Linked DNA regions of Homo sapiens: all the other regions are linked to region 3. The links are contacts of gene promoters, found by promoter capture Hi-C in blood cells and fetal thymus (Javierre and others, 2016). All regions are on one chromosome and are shown on one strand. Each heading gives the region's core, a stretch centred on a gene start or on the middle of the fragment in contact. The rest is flanking DNA. Distances are from core to core; before and after follow the strand shown.

Evidence for each region. Contacts are between HindIII fragments. The CHiCAGO score rates a contact against its expected background, and 5 or more counts as called.
Region 1: a contact is called between a fragment that was not itself captured here and the fragment with the promoter of LINC01949 in region 3, in 1 of 17 cell types (M0 macrophages). The highest score is 7.1, in M0 macrophages.
Region 2: a contact is called between a fragment that was not itself captured here and the fragment with the promoter of LINC01949 in region 3, in 3 of 17 cell types (M2 macrophages, M0 macrophages and M1 macrophages). The highest score is 7.3, in M2 macrophages.
Region 4: a contact is called between a fragment that was not itself captured here and the fragment with the promoter of LINC01949 in region 3, in 3 of 17 cell types (M0 macrophages, M2 macrophages and M1 macrophages). The highest score is 9.8, in M0 macrophages.

What each region holds. Positions count from the first base shown.
Region 1 is chr5:87,325,782-87,331,189 of GRCh38, forward strand. All of the region lies in intron 1 of RASA1 (RAS p21 protein activator 1), which reads left to right. It also overlaps a transcript of CCNH not described here. Among named protein-coding and RNA genes, the nearest start is that of RASA1, 61 kb to the left of the region's middle. The HindIII fragment of the contact is 1,239 bases long and covers 3,246-4,484 here.
Region 2 is chr5:87,160,429-87,166,067 of GRCh38, forward strand. All of the region lies in intron 2 of LOC101929380 (a long non-coding RNA gene), which reads left to right. Among named protein-coding and RNA genes, the nearest start is that of MIR4280HG, 41 kb to the left of the region's middle. The HindIII fragment of the contact is 7,822 bases long and covers 1-5,639 here.
Region 3 is chr5:87,235,489-87,240,758 of GRCh38, forward strand. It overlaps LINC01949 (long intergenic non-protein coding RNA 1949), which reads right to left and starts at 3,713. Exons shown (of 3, transcript NR_130914.1): 1 at 3,578-3,713; 2 at 3,327-3,493. The region is part of intron 2 of LOC101929380 (a long non-coding RNA gene); the gene reads left to right. The HindIII fragment of the contact is 4,009 bases long and covers 3,471-5,270 here.
Region 4 is chr5:87,141,448-87,146,730 of GRCh38, forward strand. All of the region lies in intron 2 of LOC101929380 (a long non-coding RNA gene), which reads left to right. Among named protein-coding and RNA genes, the nearest start is that of MIR4280HG, 22 kb to the left of the region's middle. The HindIII fragment of the contact is 6,007 bases long and covers 1-4,611 here.

The sequences.
Region 1 (5,408 bases), core at 2,615-5,114, 90 kb after region 3:
TGGGATTGTCAAGTTAGTTGTAAATAATTGTATAGTTTCAATGAAATGCCTGTCTGTATTCACACTAGGATATTTTCTCATTGCACAAATTTCCATATTTTTCTCTGATCAAGTGAGACAGATTATAAAACACAAAGGCCCCTCTAAGGCCCTTCGGATGTGTTCCAGCAATATGCAGCAGCCCCCCACCCCCTTTTTTATTTCCCCTGTGACAGGGTCTCTCTCTGTTGCCCAGTCTAGAGTGCAGTGGCACAATCTTGTCTCACTTCAGGCTTGACTTCCCGGGCTTAAGCTATCCTCCCATCTCAGCCTCTCGAGTAGCTGGGATCATAGGTATGTGCCACCATGCCTGGCTAATTTTTGTATTTTTTGTAGAGATGGCGTTTTGCCATATTGCCTGGGTTGGTCATGAACTCCTGGGTTCCAGCAGTCCCCTCCTCAGCCTCCCAAATTGCTGGTTTATAAAGTTGGGAGCTACTGCGCCTGGCCACAGCACACATTTATAAAAAATGTTCATGTGATTCCAAATTTAAAATAGAGTGATTTCTGTGACTTTTTTTAATTGTTCACTTTTTTAACATGCAGTTTCATCTTAGATGTATGATATTGTATGTAAATTGATTTGTATTTCTAAAAAAATGAAATTAAGGGACTCCATATCTACCTGTAAGATTTCTCAACAAAAATTTACAAAGCTAGCTGGGAAGACATGTATGTACTTCTTGAATTTCCTCCTGCTATTCCTTTTCCCCATCTTCCTTAGAGAGGCAAAGAAGAAGAGAGAGGGAGATTTACTTTTAAAATAGGAGAACATTAAATGCTTTATTATTAATGTGTTACATTAAGCAGTTTTAAGTCATAGTATCTCAAGTACATACTATCCTTTATATTGCCCCCAACACCCAAAATATACACACATTGGGAAAAGAATGGGGGCTCTTTGGGGGTTTCCTTCTAGAGTTGCCAGGTGAAATAGAATTTCTAGTTTATTAATAGTATGGCACTTGCAGCCCCAATTAATTTGAATGCTCTATAATGTTCAAAAAGAGTTTTGAGAAAATTTCCTCCTAAAATTAATGCCTTAGTAGAAAAAAAGATTGGTTTCTCCTGTTCTCTTCCCCAAATTAGATGGAAAGTAAACAAGACTGGAAAATAGGTAATTGAGACTAAGATGATTCACAGATTGATCACCCATTTTGCAACAGTCATAAAATTTGTTAGTTTTTTTGAAGAAGTTTATTAATCAGTCCCATATCCTTTGAGTATCCTCTACTCCCCTGTGATACTGGTTTGATATTAATTAAGCTAATATTTACTGGGTTCTTGGTATCCATTAGGTATTCTTCTAAGCAACTTTATATGTGTTAGCTCATTTAATAATAATATTAAGCCAACATTCTCTGAGGTAGACACTATTATATTCCTTTTATAGATGAGGAAACTGAGGCTCAGAGATAAAGTAATCTGCCTACATTTGCGCAGCTAGGTGGCAGAGCTGGGATTCAAAGACAGTGACTCTAGAGTCTTTTAACCGTTCTACTATAAAGCCTATGTAGTATTTTTCATTTTTGTATTTTTCTTTAAAGGAATTTAGTACAAGTCATTAATTTTATTCTGAGGTTGAGATAGAAATTAATTTCCCTAATTTACAAGTGATGGTAACGACATAAAAAATGTAAAGACTTGGCCGTAACTGTGGAGACAGTTTCTGACGAGATTTGGTATGTTTAGGGTGGCATTGCCATAGATTGGAGGTTTCTTGGGTTTCTGTTAAGTCTTGGTCTTCTGCTAGTATGCATTGTCTCTTTTGAACAAGCTCAGGGAGTGTCAGCATAATCATACTTCTTTGAGTTCTGTCAGCCTAAACTGTTTTCACATTCTTTTCACATGTCAGAATTTTTGGCTGGGTGCAGTGGCTCACACCTGTAATCTCAGCACTTTGGGAGGCCGAGGCAGGCAGATTACCTGAGGTCAGTAGCTCGGGACCAGCCTGGCCAACATGGTGAAACCCCGTCTCTACTAAAAATACAAAAGTTAGCCGGATGTGGTGGCACACACCTGTAATCCCAGCTACTTGGGAGGCAGAGACAGGAGAATCACTTGAACCCAGGAGGCGGAGGTTGCAGTGAGCCATAAGAGCATGGCACTGCACCCCAACCTGGGTAACAGAGCAAGACTCCGTTTCCCAAAAAAAAAAAAAAGAGAGAGAACTTCCTATGTGGACGTTAAAAAAGAAAAGTTTTTGTTTTGTTTTTTACATTGGCATGGTGGTTTAACTAGATGACTTATAAAGTATTTTTCAACATTGTTTTATGAGTCAACACTTCTTCTTTCATTGGACAAATACTTTTAAAACTTATTATTGCTATGTGCCAGGTATATTCTGTGTTATAATTGCCACAAATGTGAGCAGATTGATAAACTTTAACTTAGATGATGAGCTATTGTTTAGTAATCTCATGTTACACTCAGAGTATTCTCATACCACCAGTATGATTCTTATGCTTATGTTTCTTTGAGGTATTCTAGATTCCAGTTGAATTTTTTTTTAAACTTATTTGAAAACGGTCACCAGCAAATCTACTTTTAAAGAGATATAATAAGGCTTTGACTGTGAAGACTTAAGAGTAATAGTGGGGTTGATTAAATATGTTTTCTTGTATTTCTTTGTAATTTTATTGCTGTGACTATTTGTAGAGGCAGAAAGTGTAGCATTTTTAAAAATTGAGTATTTTAGACAAATAACCACTCCCAAAGTGTTCACTCTTGGGAAATGTTATATCTTTGTTATTGAGAGTATGTTTTGTAAAGCCATATCCCACCTGAAATAAAAAGAATTACAGACTTCAGAAAGTTAAGGTAGACAGCATTTTCTTGGCTACTGGGGCTAATTAGAATATATGATTCTCTATGCAGGACAGCCACCTTAGGGACTCTGAATCTCTCAGTAGGGTAAAATTTTTATATTTATATAAAAGATTGTGGGTTAAAAAATGGTTGAGAAATACTGTTTTTGAGTAAACCCAAGGACTGGTGTTTAAAGGTTATATAGTATTTTACTTAGGTTCTAGAAATCTGTAAGGTGTCTGAATCAAATCTTGTAACATTGGATTTATTGTGATTTATTTATAAAACATTTAAGGATCAAATCAACTAAGTAAATATTTACAAGCTGATGGCTGGATAATTTAATTGCAGTTTATAGTCATAATCAAGAATTGACATGTTTTGCTTTATGTGTTTGAAGCTTACGACCTTTTGACATGAAGGAAATTGCTAACATTTAGGAAATAGTTACTTATTTAGATTAATGTCTTTCTCCTGAACTGACTTATCCATTTTAATGCTCAGATCTTAGAAAGTACATAGATGTAAAAAATCGACTCGGTGTGGTGGCTCACACCTGTAATCCTAGCACTTGGGAAGGCTGAGGTGAGCAGATCACTTGAGTCCAGGAATTTGAGACCAGCCTGGGTGACATGGCAAAACTCTGTCTCTCCAAAAAAAAAAAAAAGCTGGATGTGGTAGCATGTGTCTGCAGTCTCGGCTACTTGGGAGGCTGTGGTGGGAAGATGGGTTGAGCCTGGGAGGTGGGGGTTGCAGTGAGCTGAGATCGTACCAGTGTACTCCAGCCTGGGCGACAGAGTGAGACTCCCGTCTTAAAACAAAACAAAACAAAAACAACTAAAAACCACAAATAAACATATATATTACTTAAAATCATAAGTTGGATATTTCTTATAAAGTAGTAATTGTGTAATGCCTCATGTATCTCTGTGTATCATTTCAATGGTAAGTTCAAAAGATGAAGGAGATTAAAGAAAAACCTTTTTCATCTTGACACTACCTAAGACATAACAGAAATTTAACAAATAACAAGTATATAAAAATAGAGATTTTTAAAAATTGTCCTTAATTTTATCTTTGTTGGGTATATAAATCTGCTCTCTGGGATAGTTCTACTGCTTTAAGTAATGAGGAATGCACTAGTTTCATATTCTAAGGATAACCTAAGGATATCCCATATATTTTCACAACTAAATAAACTCATAGCCTGAAATTTCAAAATTTTATTCTCTTATGTCGTTAAATTATAGTTCCTTAGGGTTCATTTACGATCTCTGGTGTAAACTTTCCATTTCAGATTTAAAAAGTCCCTGAGCTCTTGAAAGTTAAATTTACTTGTCATTTGTCTCAAAGATAATGGCTGAACTAAGATTAGGATTTTAGAGGAATGCAGTATTGATTGTTCTTTCCCTTCTTCCTCTAGTACTAACAGGTTACAATTATATTTTGTTTGTTAAGTCGTAATGGAACGCTATAAATAAGTTCATTATTTTCAGCCTTATGCATAGGGCTCTAAATAAATAGCTTGGTTTTAGAAGAAAACTAAAAGTAATTCTTTCCATAAGTTTTAAGTTTCTGTGTTTTTGTTTTATTTTTAAAAATTAAGGAGTCAAAAATAATGGGCTTTTATTACAACAAGCTTACAAAAATAGTCATAGTAACATAATGCTTTTATCATTGGCTTATATATTATATAAAATACATACATTATTACACATATAAGATTACAAATAAACTTTGGTAAAGCTGAAGTACTATATTATGTTACATAATTGAATATATCAATGTAATATGAATGTTTATTGTTTTTCTCTGGATGTTTCAAATTAGGCTGTAAGTATCTAAGGATGAGTTTGGCTAAACTATCAAATGTAAAAATATTTTATAGCAATTACTTTGGAGATTTGTTACCATGCCTGTATGATACTTCTAGTATATTTCTAAGCATGTTTCTGTTTATATCAGTCCATGAGGCTTTTATAGGCATACTTGGTATGCTAGAGTTACAGCCAGTTTCTTAAGTAGATCATTTGATAGTATGTAGGTAGAACACAGTTAAACTGAGAGCAAGAAGGGTGAAGGGACAAAGGTGCTATTTATTCTCCCACATGTTTGTTACATAAATTTGGAAAGTTGAGTGCAAATGTAAAATGTATAGTCATGGAGTAGATTATCTTAGAGCCAAAGGGATTAATCAGCTTCACGTTCAAACAGGAAATTAAAATAGCATCCTTTAGACAGTGTAATTCTGTTTTCCTGTCGCAGGGCACAAACACTAAAATGGAATAAAACATTTTATATTCTCATAGGTTCCATGTGCCTTGTGAAGTCATGGTTCCTCAGTATAAGATCGAGGTAGTAAATTAATCATTTCCATTTGTCTATCTTTTATTTTTCTAAGTAAAGATCTGGTTGCAGTAGTGTTTATATTTTGAATAGCAGGCAATCCTGGAAGTAGGGAGATGGGTAGAAATGGAAGAGATTTATATATGAGATGACTAGGACTGAGCTTTTAGAACAAATTAAAGACCAAGTAAATGAGTATTTTTTGAGACTGAGGT
Region 2 (5,639 bases), core at 1,778-4,277, 76 kb before region 3:
ACCTACCTCCCAACCCCAAACACATACTCTTCAGGAAAAATACAGTACTACTACTACTACTAATAATAATAATAATAAAATATTGATAGCAAGCGAATAAATGGCACACAATATATTTGAAGAGGCTTTATTTGCAAAGAAATTATGTGAAAAGGAGTGCATGGAGCATATATTGGAGCCATGAAACATCATTAAGAACCCAGAGCTATTAGGATTGATTCCCTTATGAAAAATAAAATGAAATTAAAAAGAACCCAGAGCTATTAGCTGCTAGCCATCTACCACTACCGCCATAGGCTTCGGAAGATTTGGAAGTTGATAGAAGAGGAGAGTGTATCACAGCAAGCTACTTTAAGAGGAAGGACTAAAGACTTTCTGTGGAGTGAACATAGCCAGCCTGAGAAAACTTCACACGGAAGTAAATATCATATCTTCTCTCTATTCCTTCCCTGCCATCTACTACTAGGGCTTTCCACTGGCAAAACCCAACCAGAAGACCGGGGGGCTAGAGACTATTGATATAATGGAAACAAGTCAACCCCGGGAGGAAAAAGGCAGGATAGAGAAGGATAGCAAGAGGATTTGTAGAAGAAAAGAAAAGTCATCTGACATGGCAACATTGGAAGGAGCCTGAGCAGAGCAGAAAAAGTCACTGATTTGCAGCAATGAATGTTTCATAGATGGCTCTTATCTCCCTGTGGCAGAAGGCTTTGAGTGTGAAAGACCCTGGAAATAATGGGATTCTGCTCCCAGGGAACTCAACAAATACTCATTGATCAGCAGCTACGATGTGTCAATAACTATTCTAAACAGTAGGGATTTGAACATGAATAAACCATGGACACTGTCCTGAGGAAGGTCATAGCCCAGGAAGAGAATCAGGCCCATAAACAGACAATTACAACACAATATAAAAAGTCCCATCAATGAAAATATGAACTCCTTAAGGGCATGGACTGAATCATATGCTTTTTTGTATCACCAGAATGCAGCAAAATGCCTGCCACATAGTAAGGACCAAATAAATGTTAAATAAATGAGAGGTATAGGGATTGTTCACATAGGTAAGCTCGGAAGAGCTAGGTCTGCTCTCTGATGAATAAGTCTTCAGCATATTTGTGAAATGGGCAAAATTTACAGCTCACAGGTATCTTTTTACACCTCCATTTAAAATATTTTTCATTGCTTGTTCTCTAAAAATATTTAGGGTTTCCTTTTATTGCATATGTGCTCAGTGAAGTACTCCATCAAACTTATATGGACTGCCTTCTTTCCACTGTCGTTTAAGACTTATCCCATGTACTTAGGTCCCTACTTGCACTATATATACACATATACACTTTTAAATATGCATGTGTGTTTTTAAATTATTCAGTATATAAAATATTTAATTAGATGATAAGGAAGACACATTGAATCATTGGGAAAAGGATGGTATACTCAAATGCTGTGGAACACTTAGCTAGCAATTTTGGGATGAAGGTAAAATTAAAATCTAATCCATGCCTTATATTACAATAATTTAAGATTGAATTAAGTTTCTTCTTTTTTTTTTTTTTTTGAGACGGAGTCTCACTCTGTCACCCACGCTGGAGTGCGGTGGTGCAATCTTGACTCACTGCCAGCTCCACCTCCCAGGTTCACGCCATTCTCCTGCCTCAGCCTCCCAAGTAGCTGGGACTACAGGCGCCCGCCACCACGCCTGGCTAATTTTCTGTATTTAGTAGAGACGCGGTTTCACCGTGTTAGCCAGGAAGGTCTCGATCTACTGACCTCGTAATCCGCCTGCCTCGGCCTCCCAAAGTGCTGGGATTACAGGCGTGAGCCACTGCACCTGGCCTGAATTAAGTTTCTAAAATGAAAAATAAAATGATAAAAGTATAAGAAGAAAATTTGTAACCTATGCTCATCTTAAGATAGGAAAATTTGGGTATAGAGAAAAATAACTGTTGTGAACAAAGGTGACAAATAAATGACGAGAAAAATATTTGAAACGTATATGACAAAGGCTTAACTTAATCTCCACTTCGTAACAGAGAAGAGGGCATTATGACTAGGCTTAGAAGGCAATTGGGAAAATAATGTTTCCCCAAAATACAAATAAATCCACAAATATAAACTTTCTCTCCAGTGTTCTGGCTTAGTAAATGAATAGAAAACATAATGTAAAATTATACCAAGACTAGCCAGAGTATGAACAATTTGAGGAAATACACAGGTTTGTAAAGAACGCTTACAAATCAATAAGAAAAAATAAACACTTCAATAGAAGTAAAAGGCATAAAAAAGCAATTAACAAAAAATATAACTGGACAACAAACATGAAAACAAGTTTTTATTTTTAATCTGTCAAATTGACAATGATTAAAAGAAAGATTAAAATCCAACCTGAGATAAAATGTAGGAAAATTGGCACTCACTTTTTTGGCAATACAAATTACTTCAGTGTTGTAGTCAATAGACTTTTACACTGCAAGTGAAAGATGGCCATGATATTGTCAAACAGAAGCCAAATTTTAAAAAATAAAACATACTGTGGCTATTTGATAATATGAAGGAATCATGGTTAATTTGTTAATGTTTGATATTCATATTTTTGTTTGTTTTGTAGAAGAGTTATCTTTTAGAGGAACATATTAAAACATTTATGGATGAAAATAATAGATCATATAGATTTGCTTTGAAATAATTTAGGGTTGGAGGATTAGAAGAAGGTATAGATAAAACAAGATGGCCAAAGACTAATAATTGTTGCTAGGCATATGGGGATTTCATTATACAGTTTTTCTACTTTCTTATAAGTTGAAAAAGATTTTCCATAATAAGGTTTTAAACTGTTTATATACTAATGTCCAAATTTTATTAAACAAATGATATCATATATGCATGATGCATGAAAAAAGAACTGATGAAAGATACCAAAAGTTATCTTGGGACCAATCTTTATTTTTCTCTTTAGTTCTCATACGTTCTGAAATTTTTACTATGAACCTAAGTTACTTTTGATAGCTAGTAAAATAATTTTTTAAAGATTGTAGTCAGTGCAGTCACCTTAATCTTATAAAACAGGAGCCATGAAAAATGAATTAACATATATTTTTCTAGAAGACATTTTTACTCCCAGGTAGTTCACCATTTTTATATTATTTCTCTTCACTCTACCTACTTTTAATGTAGGATTACCATGCATACTGGTCATTGTTTGAGATTTACTTTTCTTTCATAATTTATTTTCTATTCAATCCCTTTTCTTCTTCCTACTTGGTACATCTCAATATTAGGCCTTCATTTTAAATAAACTAACCACAATTATAGATTATTAACTAAATCCAACATTTTGTCCCATCATACTTTCATCTAAAACTGGTGAGAACTCATTTACAATGTAAGCTATTATATTTGTAACACAGAACAATAATTTTTAAATCTTAAGATGTTTCAGATATTCAAGCAGACACGATTGTAATGGGACTTGCTGGCAGTAATGTTAAAGTCTACCAAAGTAGAACTGCATTCTAAATGATTTTTTTTTTAATAACAGCAAACTAAATTTGTCCCCTGCAGTTAGGCAGATTAGGGTATTATAAAAACAAAAAGAAAAGTGACACTTTTACAAATGGAGTGTTGTGGGGGGCGGGGGGCAGTGAAGTGGGACCACCTCCAGTTAATTTTGAGGAACACATAAACTGTTAACCTCTCCCCACTGCAAATTTTGAAAAACACTTGTTTTGTAATAATAATAAGAATGTGATCGTTTATTATTATCATCACAACATTGTTTGGGCATCTTACGTGGTCACCAATCCTACTAACCATCTTCTCAGGTCTATATTAGTATACCTCTATTACAGTGGAAGAAACTGAGACTCAGGAAGATTAAGCATGTGGTTCAAAGCTGCACAGCCTGGATTCAAATCCTATGTCTGTCTTATAACAAAGCCTGTGCTCTTTTGATTCTACTACCTTGCATTTACAGACTGATCGCATTACACAGATTGATAGGGAATGAAGGGGAGAAATGGTAGGGGCAGGAGAGTATGCAGTGTGGCAACAGTAAAGGGAGAATAAATACTCATTTAAGCTGTGGTGGTTATTCTTATTCTATGCTTTCAGTAGTAAATGTGCACTACAGGAATTTATATCAACAACTTAAATTTACAAAGACATACCTCTTGCCGTTTGCTGCATACCAATGTGTACTAGGATGATTCATGGATTCAGAGGATATTAAAACTAGAAGAAACAATAGAGATCATCTAATGGAATCTTTTCCTTCCCTCTACACATAAAAAAGAGGAATAAGAGAATATTGTCAAGTGTTCCTTCAGCTATAAGTTCAACTGCTATTGCATTTATGATAGCAAAAAAAAATTGAGTGTGAATTTAATTTTGTCTGAAAACCCCTAAAATGGCATACATATCTATACACCAAGTATAGTAAATACCTCATATATTCAAGTAAATATGTTACAGTGGAAGAAGGGGCAAGACACTGAACTGGAAATGGAAGCACAGGGCTTTGGTTTCACTCAGGTTTCTAACAAGTTTTGTGACTTGGATTACTTCAACTGTCTTGTGAGTAAATAGAAGTAATTGGACTAAGTTCCCTTCTCTTGGGCTCTCCAAAGGGGAATAACTTGCAAGTTCTAGTATTGAGGATGCAGCTCCTTTGCTAACAGACAAGAGTGTGTTTGCTTTCCCAAACTAAAAGTAAATCCACAGGTATATACTATATCTCCCCAATGTTCTGGTTTAGATAATGAATAGAAAACAGCAATTCCAGGTATAGTGTGAACAATGTGAGGTTATCCACGGTCTTTTTAGACATTTGCACCCTAGTTAAGATACTGTAAACTTAACCGAGTAGAAAAGAAATCAGAGTGAGCAGGGAACTGATGCTCTAGGATCTTAGGTAATTGACAATCAATACAGCCACAGAAGAATCAGAAACATTGATTTATTTAAGTAAAAGAAAGTATAGCTACACAATATTTGCCCTATGTTCTCGATCAGGTTTTTAAAAACTAAATTTGGTAAAGCGCAGTGGCTCCCGCCTGTAATCCAAGCACTTTGGGAGGCCGAGGCAGGTGGATCACGAAGTCAAGAGATCGAGACCATCCTGGCCAACATGGTGAAACCCCCATCTCTACTAAAAATAAAAAAATTTTTTAAAAATTAGCTGGGCGTGGTAGGGTGTGCCTGTATTACCAGCTACTCAGGAGGCTGAGGCAGGAGAATCGCTTGAACCTGGGAGGCGGAGGTTGCAGTGAGCCAAGATCACGCCACTGTGCTCCAGCCTGGTGACAGAGTGAGACTCCGTCTCAAAAAACAAACAAAGACACTAAACTAAATTTATTGTTTTACTGCCATATTTGGTTCTATTGATTTATAAATAAGTGATATAACTTATTAATATATGGCATCTACTTTTTATGTAATTCAGGTAAATCTGACAGTGGTTTAATAGCTACTAAAACACTTGACTCATGTAGTACCTGTGGGATGATGGCATTAGCTACATTTTCTTTTTTTTTTTTGAGACGGAGTCTCGCTCTGTTGTTCAGGCTGGAGTGCAGTGGCGTGATCTTGGCTCACTGCAAGCTCCACCTCCTGGGTTCAAGCAATTCTCTGCCTCAGCC
Region 3 (5,270 bases), core at 2,463-4,962:
TCTAATTTGAAACAATTGTATATAAAAAGATCACATTTCAACCACAATCTCCAATTAGAAGATATATTGTGTAGATCTTTTTTTATAATTCTACACAAAAATACAACAAAAAAGAAAACTACAGGCTAATATCCCTGATGAACATAGATGCAAAAAATCTCAACAATATATTAGAAAACTGAATCTACCAACATATCAAAAAGATTATACATGATCGAGTTGGATTTTTATTGTCATTTTTTTAGATGGGGTCTTAATATGTTCCCCAAGTTGGTCTCTTACTATGTTCCCTAAGTTGGTCTCAAACTCCTGGGCTCAAGCAATCCTCCCACGTCAGGAGTGGGAGGATTGTTGCAACTACACATATTGCATCTACAGGCATGTGCCACTGAGCCTGGCTTCAAGTTCAAGTGGGATTTATCCCAAGGATGCAAGGATGGTTCAAAACATGCAAGTCAATAATCGTGATATATCACATCAACAGAATGAAGAATTAAAAAAATGATCATTTCAATAGATGCAGAAAAAGCATTTCATAATATTCAATATCACTTAATGATAAAAACTTTCAACAAATTAGGCATAGAAGGAAAGCACCTCAACACAATAAAAGCCATATATGACAAACCCACAGCTAACATACTGAATGGGGAAAAGATGGAAGCTTTTCCTCTAAAAACTGGAATAAGACAAGGATGCCCACTTTCACTACTCTTATTCAACATAGTATTGAAGTCTTAATTAGATCACTTAGGCAAGAGAAAGAAATAAAAGCCATTCAGACTGGAAAGGAAGAAGTCAAACTGTCCCTGTTTGCGGATAACATGATCTTATATATAGATAATGCTAAAGATGACCAAAAAACTCTTAGAGCTGATAAACAAATTCGGTAAAGCTGCAAAATACAAAATCAGCGTACAAAAATCAGTAGCATTTCCATTTATAATTATACCTACCCAAAAAAGTCTAGGAATAAATTTAATAAAGGGGGTGAAATATCTCTAAAATGAAAACTACAAAACACTGATGAAAAAATTAAGAGGACACAAAAAATGAAAAGTCATCCTATATTTATGGATTGCAAGAATTAATATTTTTAAAATTACCATGCCATCCAAGGTAATCTACATATTCAATCCAATTCCTATCAAAATACCAATAACATTCTTCACAAAAATAGAAAAAAAACCCTAAAATCCAAACAGCCAAAGCAATCCTAAGCAAAAACAAAAACAAACAAACAAACAAAAACAAAGCTGGCAGCATCACACTACCTGACTTCAAAATATACGACAAAGCTATGGTAACTACATGGCATGATATTGCATAAAAATAGACGCATAGACATAGAGAACCTAGAAATCACATACTTATAAAATTGTGCTTCTGCTCTTTAAGAAGAAATGTGGATAGATATGTTATGGGTAACCAATAGTGACTGCCACAGTGGTTGTATAAATTCCTGCTCCTGTAGAAGTGTGTGTGTTTGTGTTTGTATGTGTTTTACTTGCTAATATAAGGTTTTGTTTTTCAGTCATTTTGGAAGTTTGTTGTATGTTATAGGTAAACTCTGGTTCACATTCACATTTTCATGATAAATGGTTAAGCATTTTTTCCATATATTTATGGCCATCTGAGTCTCCTCTTCTGTGAACTATGTTTATGTTTTTGTTCTCTTTTGATATTTCTTATCTACCTGAGGAGCTCTTTATAGTCTAGATATGAATTATTTTGTAAGATGTATGCATCACAGATATTTTCTCCCAGTCTGTGTGCTATGGACTGAATGTTTGTGTCCCCAAAAAACTCCTATGTTGAAATCCAATCCTCCCACCCCCATCCTGCCTTCCAAAGTGATAGTATTTGGATCTGAGGCCATTGGAAAGTGATTATATCATGAGGGTGAATCCCTCATAAATAGGATTAGTGCTCTTGTAAAAAGTACTCCAGAGAGCCATCTTGTTTTTCTGCCATGTGAGGACATAGTGAGAAGATGGTGGTCTATAAACTAGAAAGTGGGCTCTCTTTGACTGGGACTGCTCAGCCTCCAGAAACTATGAGAAATAAATGTTGTTTAAGCCACTCAGTCTATGGTATTTTTTTATACAGCCAGAATGGACTAAGACACTGTAACTTATCTCTTAATTGTATTTTGGTGTCTTTTACGGAACACATGTTTTATTTAATGTTATAAAAAAAATGCATTTTGTCGTTTATGCCATTGCATCTAGCTTAAGAAAGCTTTCCTTACTGGAAGTCATAAATTCTCCTATCTTTTTCTAAAAGTCTTAAAGTTTTGCTCTTTGTATTTAAGTTTCTTTCATCTGAAGTATATTCCATGTAAATAGAGTGAGGCAGAGATCTTTCTGACTTTTTCCCATGTGACTAACCAATTATCCCGGCATTATTTGTTATTTTTTTATTTTACTCCTGAATTTTAATGTCACACTTGTCATACACCAAGTTATCAAATATGTGAATCTGTTCTGAGTTTTGTTTTGTTGGTCTATTAATTTTATTTCTGACACAATAATACAGTTGTATAATTACAACATTAGAATATCAATATCTGGTAAAGTAATATCAGTGAAACTGATTTATGAATTGCATGTAAAAATTTTAAGGCCACCATGTCAATGTAATTAGCACTGGCCTACAGATAACCTATTGATTTGACCACTTTGCTCTTGTATGTAGAAACTTTGCTTAACTCTCCTATTCCAGTTCTTCAGCTGTACAATTATTGGATTTTCTATAAAAAAAAATATTCAAATAATCAATATTTGATCTTCCCTAATCCATATAACTGGTTATTTCTTTCTTATTTCATTGGTTAGGAACTCCAGAGCAATGATGATTATTGGTGGAGATAATAAGTATTAATGCTTGTTCCTAATGTTAATGGGAATTTTATAACTCTCATACATTATTTCTAGGATAAATCATATTTGATCATAATGCATTTTTTAAAATGCTTGATTCAATTTGTCAACATCTTATGATACTTGCATGTACTCATAAGGAAGATTAACCTATAATTTTTCTTTCTCTTATTTTTCTAGTTCAGCTAACTAGAATATATTAACTTCATGAGAGAAACTACAGAATTTTCCTCTTTTTCTGTATTTTGTAGCATTTTGTGCTAAAGAGATTTTTCTGTGCTTTGAATGTTTGTTGGTAATCCCTGTGTAAAATTTTCTAGACTTACTGTTATTTATTTTGGGTAGGTTTTTGCTTACTAATTCAATTTTTCCAAAGGCTTTCTCCTCAGACATAGATTTACTCTTGAGTCAATTTTGGTAATTTAAATTTTTAGTGATGCCCACCTGCAAAGGGCCAGGTCTGGCATACAGTTTGAAATTTGCTGCCAGAGTCCCATTTTGCAATCCCGAACTTCTGGTGGAGACTGGGGTGTCCATGGCCCACTACCCAGTGGCGAGTAAACTCTTTGCTCCCAGACTGTTGCAAGAAGCTTAAAGGATGGCCTCCAGATCTGGAACAATTATGTTCTCATATTAATAAAAAGATTAACAATATTTTTAAAAATCTGTCATTGAGAAACTGGCCAAGAACCTACCTTGAAGAATATCTTAATAGGAGATGAGATCACTGTAAGAAATGAACTTCTAAATAAATTTGAATAGGAAATTCAGTATTAAGAACAAACCAACAATTCACTCAAGGAACTCTGTAAATCTCTTGAAGAATATTATAAAATGTGGAATATCTCAAAGAAAACTTTCCTTCCCATGTGCCTCAAATAACAGGTCTCAAACTCCTAGCCTCAATCAGTCCTCCCACCTCAGCCTCCCAAAGTGCTGGGATTACAGGTGTGAGCCACTGTCCCCAGCCATAATTTATTTATATTTTATTTCTTTAGCTTTTTCATCTTCTATCCTGTTTCATATAAAATTCAAACTTTTTTGGATAAATTTTTTAATCAAATGCTTCCGTTTAAGTTAGTTTTAGCATTTATTTTTATAAAATTTTAGCATGTAATTTTAAAATAATTTTTTATATTTTAAGATCATACCTGTCCATGTGACTCCAATTCAGCTGTAAAAGATCTGAGAAATATTTGATCTGTTGTCCAGGAAGAAAAGGAGAGGAGGAACATTCTTCTATCATTTCACTCTTACCTGTATATGAAGAATATACTTACCTCCCCCGAAGGAGGACAATCTGAAGTCCCTTCTAGTTAGTGCATTCAGCTCAAAGCCCAAGACATTCAAGAAATGTGTCATCTTCTCCAATACGTGAATGTTTGAATTCTCCTGAAATAAAATCCCATGAACTGAAGAAATATCCTGTCTTTACCACCACTCCCATATACACCTACATGTGAGGGTGCATGCATGCACATGAACACACACACATCTAATATACAAAATGAATCAAGGACAGAAGTAGCTATAATAGGAATCTGATTAGTAAGGGTAGGAATGGAAGGCAAGCAACAGTAACCAGTGCATATAGATCTTAAACAACAGATCGCCAAACACACTGCAGAATGATAAGAGGGTCTGAAATGTAATACATCAAGTGTTAATGTGCCAGACCTAGAAGTGGCAAATGTCACTTGGACATATTCCACTGGCTAAAACTCAGTTACATAGGCCCAGTAAAATGATAAAAAGCCTATGTAAGTTTTGGTTGTATGCCAAAAAAGAAGAGGACAAAATGGATATTGATGTGCACTAACAGTCTGTGTCATCATGGTGACATGATCCTTCTATCATGAAGTAATCAACCTCTTTAGAGAAAAATCATTATTAGACTTAAAGTTGTTTTCTAATATCAATATTACTGTCAGATCTATTTTGGTCCGGTTCCTGGTGTACAGTTTTTCAACCTATGACAGTAAGTTCTCAACGTTGTTGATAGGGTCTTGGAAACTTCAACTTCAAGTGAGATGCCATGTAACAAAACCAGTTTTACTATAGGCTAATTAATATAAACAAGAATTAGTTCCTATGGCATATTTGTATCACAAAAACATCAACAAATTTCTAAGTGAAGACTTGAAACACTTCTAATGTTGAATATTGATATAAATGTAAGCTATACATACATTTAAGAAAAATCAACAAAAATAAGTAAGCAATTTGTCCAATTTTTGGTGAATCAGTGAGTGACAGCCGTCATCCTGGTGGTAGGTTAAATCAAGAAATAAATGTTTGTAAAGTGAAAATTGTCAGGAGTACCTCCTACCAACACACAGTTCAAAAACAAACAATATTCAATAAGGCAGACTCTCTAAGCACTTTCAT
Region 4 (5,283 bases), core at 358-2,857, 96 kb before region 3:
TTATCATTTTAAATTATGTTTTAACAACTAAATGATCCCAGGAGCACAGAAAGGGGCATATAACAATTTCACGGTGTGATACCCTTTCTATGAACTGTACTGACGCCAGTGGATTACAATAAATAAGGCAGCTTTTACCTCCAGCAAACTTAACCAAAACCATACACATATATCCACAAAAACCTGTAGGCAGTTCCACATTTTCTTGATGAACACTGGGCTTTCTTGAAATGTATACTTAGCCATGGAGGCTAGAAAGTATCTCTCTCTGTTTTATAAGCATCATTATCAGAACAATGGTATGCAGGGAATGAAACATATCTCCACTGGGATTTATGTTCACAAAGAATTCAGAAAGCACAGAATCTGCACCTGCTACAAGATAATATTGGGCATGGAATTAAAAAATAAAATTTCAACACAAAGCTAAAGATATTTACACTAGTTGGGATATTTACTGTACTGAGTTATGAGAAAATTAAAATTTAACCTCTTATAAAGGCACCCAAAGTCCAGAATATTAAGATACTATAAGATACAAAGAATTTAGATTTGTACTGGAAAACAATAGAAAAGATACTACAGATCAGATTACAGTGGAAGGAAGGGAAGGGCGGACAAGGTCCTGCCAGTTCTTTTTTTTTTTTTTTTTTTTTTTTTTTTTTGAGACCGAGTCTCGCTCTGTCGCCCAGGCTGGAGTGCAGTGGCACGATCTCAGCTCACTGCAAGCTCCACCTCCCGGGTTCACGCCATTCTCCTTTCTCAGCCTCCGGAGTAGCTGGGATTACAGGCGCCCGCCACCACGCCTGGCTAATTTTTTGTATTTTTAGTAAAGACGGGGTTTCACCGTGTTAGCCAGGATGGTCTCGATTTCCTGACCTCATGATCCGCTGGCCCCGGCCTCCCAAAGTGCTGGGATTACAGGCGTGAGCCACCGCGCCCAGCCCTGCCAATTCTTACTATTAATTCTGCCCACATACACATCTTATACTAAGTTTTCTACTTTTAATTGAGTTAGAGAATGCCCCAGACTCTACACTCTGGTCGTCCTGTCAGAAGTAACACTGAGACCGTCAAGGATGGGAACAAGACCTCAAATGCTTTTCTAGGTCTTTATTTGCAGCCTGTTACACATGATATTGACCATCCTTTCCCCAAATAATTAAGATGACTCTTTCCACCTCTACTCTGTAACTGAGGGCCCTCTTGTCACCTTATGACTGTGGGACAATGAAATGAACAGGAATACTTAAAGCTGCCTACTAAAGCCCATGACCAGTCTGCCATGCTGACTAATTTTGAGAAAAAAAAATTAAACCTTTGAGAAAAACTAAGGACTTTTTCTTAAGGATTTTATTTATTACACCTGTTCCTCTATGCATCCCTTTTTCTCTTGAACTAAAATACTCATTTACTACAAGAGGAAAGCGTGAAAGAAACCTTCACATGTTATACCTATTACTCACTTCTCACAAGAACATGAAGGACAACACTGTCCATGTAATAGTGAGCAGAGAGGTAGTTAAGAATTTCAAATACCAGAGTGAGTTCCAAGATTTATACTCCACCCCAGCCCACCTTTCTTTATATCAATTACAGAACCAAATAGCCTCTCTCTCTCTCTTTCTCTCTCTCTCTCTCTCACACACACACACACACACTCCAAACCCCCCAGTAAGTTAAGAACATTCACAGATGTACATCACATGCAAATCTATGTAGTAGAAACTGTGACCAGCTCTGTACCTTATTTGGTTTTGTCCCTGCTGGATTCAGCTGCCCCTACCCTAGCACTGGCATAATTTTGCCATCAATGGAAAGAGTATATTCATATCAATCCCCTATTAGTCAACAGAATAATTAGCTGTCATCAAAAAATAACTCAGTCAGCTGGGCATGGTGGCTCATGCCTGTAATCCCAGCACTTTGGGAGGCTGAGGAGGGTGGATTGCTTGAGGTCAGGAGTTCAAGATCAGCCTGGCCAACATGGTGAAACCCTGTCTCTACTAAAAATACAAAAATTAGCTGGGCGTGGTGGTGCATGCCTGTAATCCCAGCTACTTAGGATGTTGAAGCACGAGAATCGCTTGAACCTGGGAGGCGGAGGTTTCAGTGAGCTGAGATCGAGATCGTGCCACTGCACTCCAGCGTGGGCGACAGAGCAAGACTCTGTCTCAAAAAAAAAAAAAAAAAAAAAAAAGTAACTCTGTTAGTAAAATCTGTAACACTCTCTAATTTAGTAAGTATAGCCTGCAAAGGTAATCCATACTTGCTTTCTTCCCCTGCTTCATTTCCCACTCCCCTCTTCTCATATCCTACTGTAACATCATCTGCATAGAATTATCTTTCTAATCCATAATACGCCATACTCTTTCATGATTCTGGGTCTTTGAAAATATTATTCTTTTTTTCTCTTCAACTTTTAAGTTCCGGGATAGATGTTCAGGATGTGTAGGTTTGTTACATAGCTAAATGTGTGCCATGATGGTTTGCTGCAAAGATCAACCCATCACCTAAGTATTAAGCCCAGCATCGATTACTACTCTTCATGATGCTCCCCCTCCCCCTAGCCCCACTCCTGATGGGCCCCAGTGTGTGTTGTTCCCCCTCATTTGTCCATGTGTTCTCATCGTTCAGCTCCCGCTTATAAGTGAGAACATGCGGTGTTTGGTTTTCTGTTCCTGCATTAATTTGCTGAGGATAATGGCTTCAGCTCCATCCATGTCCCTGCAAAGGACATGATCTCCTTCCTTTTTATGGCTGCATAGTATTTCATGGTGTATATGTACCACATTTTCTTTATCCAGTGTATCACTGATGGTCATTTAGGTTGATTCCATGTCTTTGCTATTGTGAATAGTGCTGCAATGAACATACGTGTGTGTGTATCTTATAACAAAATTATTTATATTCCTTTGGGTATACACCCAGTAATGGTATTGCTGGGATTAATGGTATCTCTGCCACAGCAGCTTTGAGGAATCACCACACTGTCTTCCACAATGGTTGAACTGATTTACACTACCACCAACAGTGTATAAGTGCTCCCTTTTCTGCAAAACCTCACCAACATCTGTTATCTTTTGACTTTTTAATAACAGCCATTTTGACTAGTGTGAGATGGTATTTCACTATGGTTTTGATTTGCATTTCTCTAATCGTCAGTGATGTTGAGCTTTGTTCATATGTTTTTGGCCACATGAATGTCTTCTTTTGAAGTGTTTGTTCATGTATGTACTTTGCCCACTTTTTAATGGGATTGTTTGTTTTCTTCTCATAAATTTGTTTAAGTTCCTTGTAGATTCCAGATATTAGACTTCTGTCAGACGGATACATTGAAAAAAATTTCTCCCATTCTGTAGGTTGTCTGTTTACTCTGGTGGTTTCTTTTGCTGTGCAGAAGCTATTTAGTTTAATTAGATCTCATTTGTCAATTTTTGCTTTTGTTGCAATTGCTTTTGGGGTTTTCATCATGAAATATTTACCCATGCCTATGTGCTGAATGGTATTGTCTAGATTTTCTCCCGGGGTGATTATAGTTTGGGGGTTTACATTTAAGTCTTTTTTTTTTTTTTTTTCTGTGAGAATGAGTCTCGCCCATGCTGGAGTGCAGTGGCACGATCTTGGCTCACTGCAAGGTCCGCCTTCCAGGTTCATGCCATTCTCCTGCCTCAGCCTCCCAAGTAGCTGGGACTACAGGTGCCTGCCACCACACCTGGCTAATTTTTTTGTATTATTAGTAGAGACGGGGTTTCACGGTGTTAGCCAGGATGGTCTCGATCTCCTGACCTTGTGATCTCCCCGCCTCGGCCTCCCAAAGTGCTGGAATTACAGGTGTGAGCCACCGTGCCCAGCCCATTTAAATCTTTAATCTATCTGGGGTTAATTTTGTATAAGTTGTAAGGAAGGAGTCCAGTTTCAATTTCCTGCATATGGCTAGCCACTTCTCCCAGCACCATTTATTAAATAGGGAATCCTTTCCCCATTGCTTCTTTTTGTCAGGTTTGTTTAAGATCAGATGGTTGTAGGTGTACAGTTTTATTTCTGAAGTTTTCTGAGTTCTCTATTCTGTTCCATTGGTCTATGTATCTGTTCTTGTACGAGTACTATGCTGTTTTGGTTATTGCAGTCTTGTAGTATAGTTTGAAGTCAGGTAGTGTGATGCCTCCAGCTTTGTTATTTTTCCATAGGATTGTCTTGGCTATTTGGGCTCTTTTTTGGTTCCACATGAACTTTTTTAAAGTTTCTTCTAATACTGTGAAGAATGTCAGTGGTAGTTTAATGGGAATGGCATTGAATCTATAAATTACTTTGGGCAGTATGGCCATTATCATGATATCGAGTCTTCCTATCCATGAGCATGGAATTTTTTTCCATTTGTTTGTGTTGTCTCTGATTTCTTTGATCAGTGGTTTGTAGTTCTTGAACAGGTCCTTCACTTCCCTGTTAGCTGTATTCCTAGGTATTTTATTCTCTTTCTAGCAATTAGGAATGGGAGTTCATTCATGATTTGGCTCTCTGTTGCCTGTGTTGGCGTATAGGAATGTTAGCAATGTTTGCACATTGATTTTGTATCCTGAGACTTTGCTGAAGTTGCTTAACAGCTTAAGAAGCTTTTGGGCTGAGACACTGGGATTTTCTGGATACAAGATGATGTCATCTGCAAACAAGGATAATTTGACTTCCTCTCTCCCTAATTGAATATCCTTTATTTCTTTCTCTTGCCTTATTGTCCTGGCCAGAACTTCCAATACTATGTTGAATAAGAGTGGTGAGAGAGAGCATCCTTGTTTTGTGCCAGTTTTCAAGGGGAATGCTTCCAGCTTTTGCCCATTCAGTATAATATTGGCTATGGGTTTGTCATAAATGGCTGTTATTATTTTGAGATATGTCCCTTCAATACCTAGTTTATTGAGAGTTTTTAATATGAAGGGAGGTTGAATTTTATCGAAGGCCTTTTCTGTGTCTATTGAGATAATCATGTGGTTTTTGTCTTTAGTTCTGTTTATGTGATGAATTACATTTATTGATTCATGTATGTTGAACCAGCCTTGCATCCTGGATATGAAGCCAACTTAATCGTGTTGGATAAACTTTTTGATATGCTGCTGGATTTGCCAGTATTTCATTGAGGATTTTTGCATCGATGTTCATCAGGGATATTGGCCTGAAGTTTTCTTTTTCTGTTGTATCTCTGCCAGGTTTTGGTATCAGAATGATGCTGGCCTCATAAAATAAGTTAGGGAGAAGTCCATCCTTTTCCATTGTTTGGAATAGTTTCAG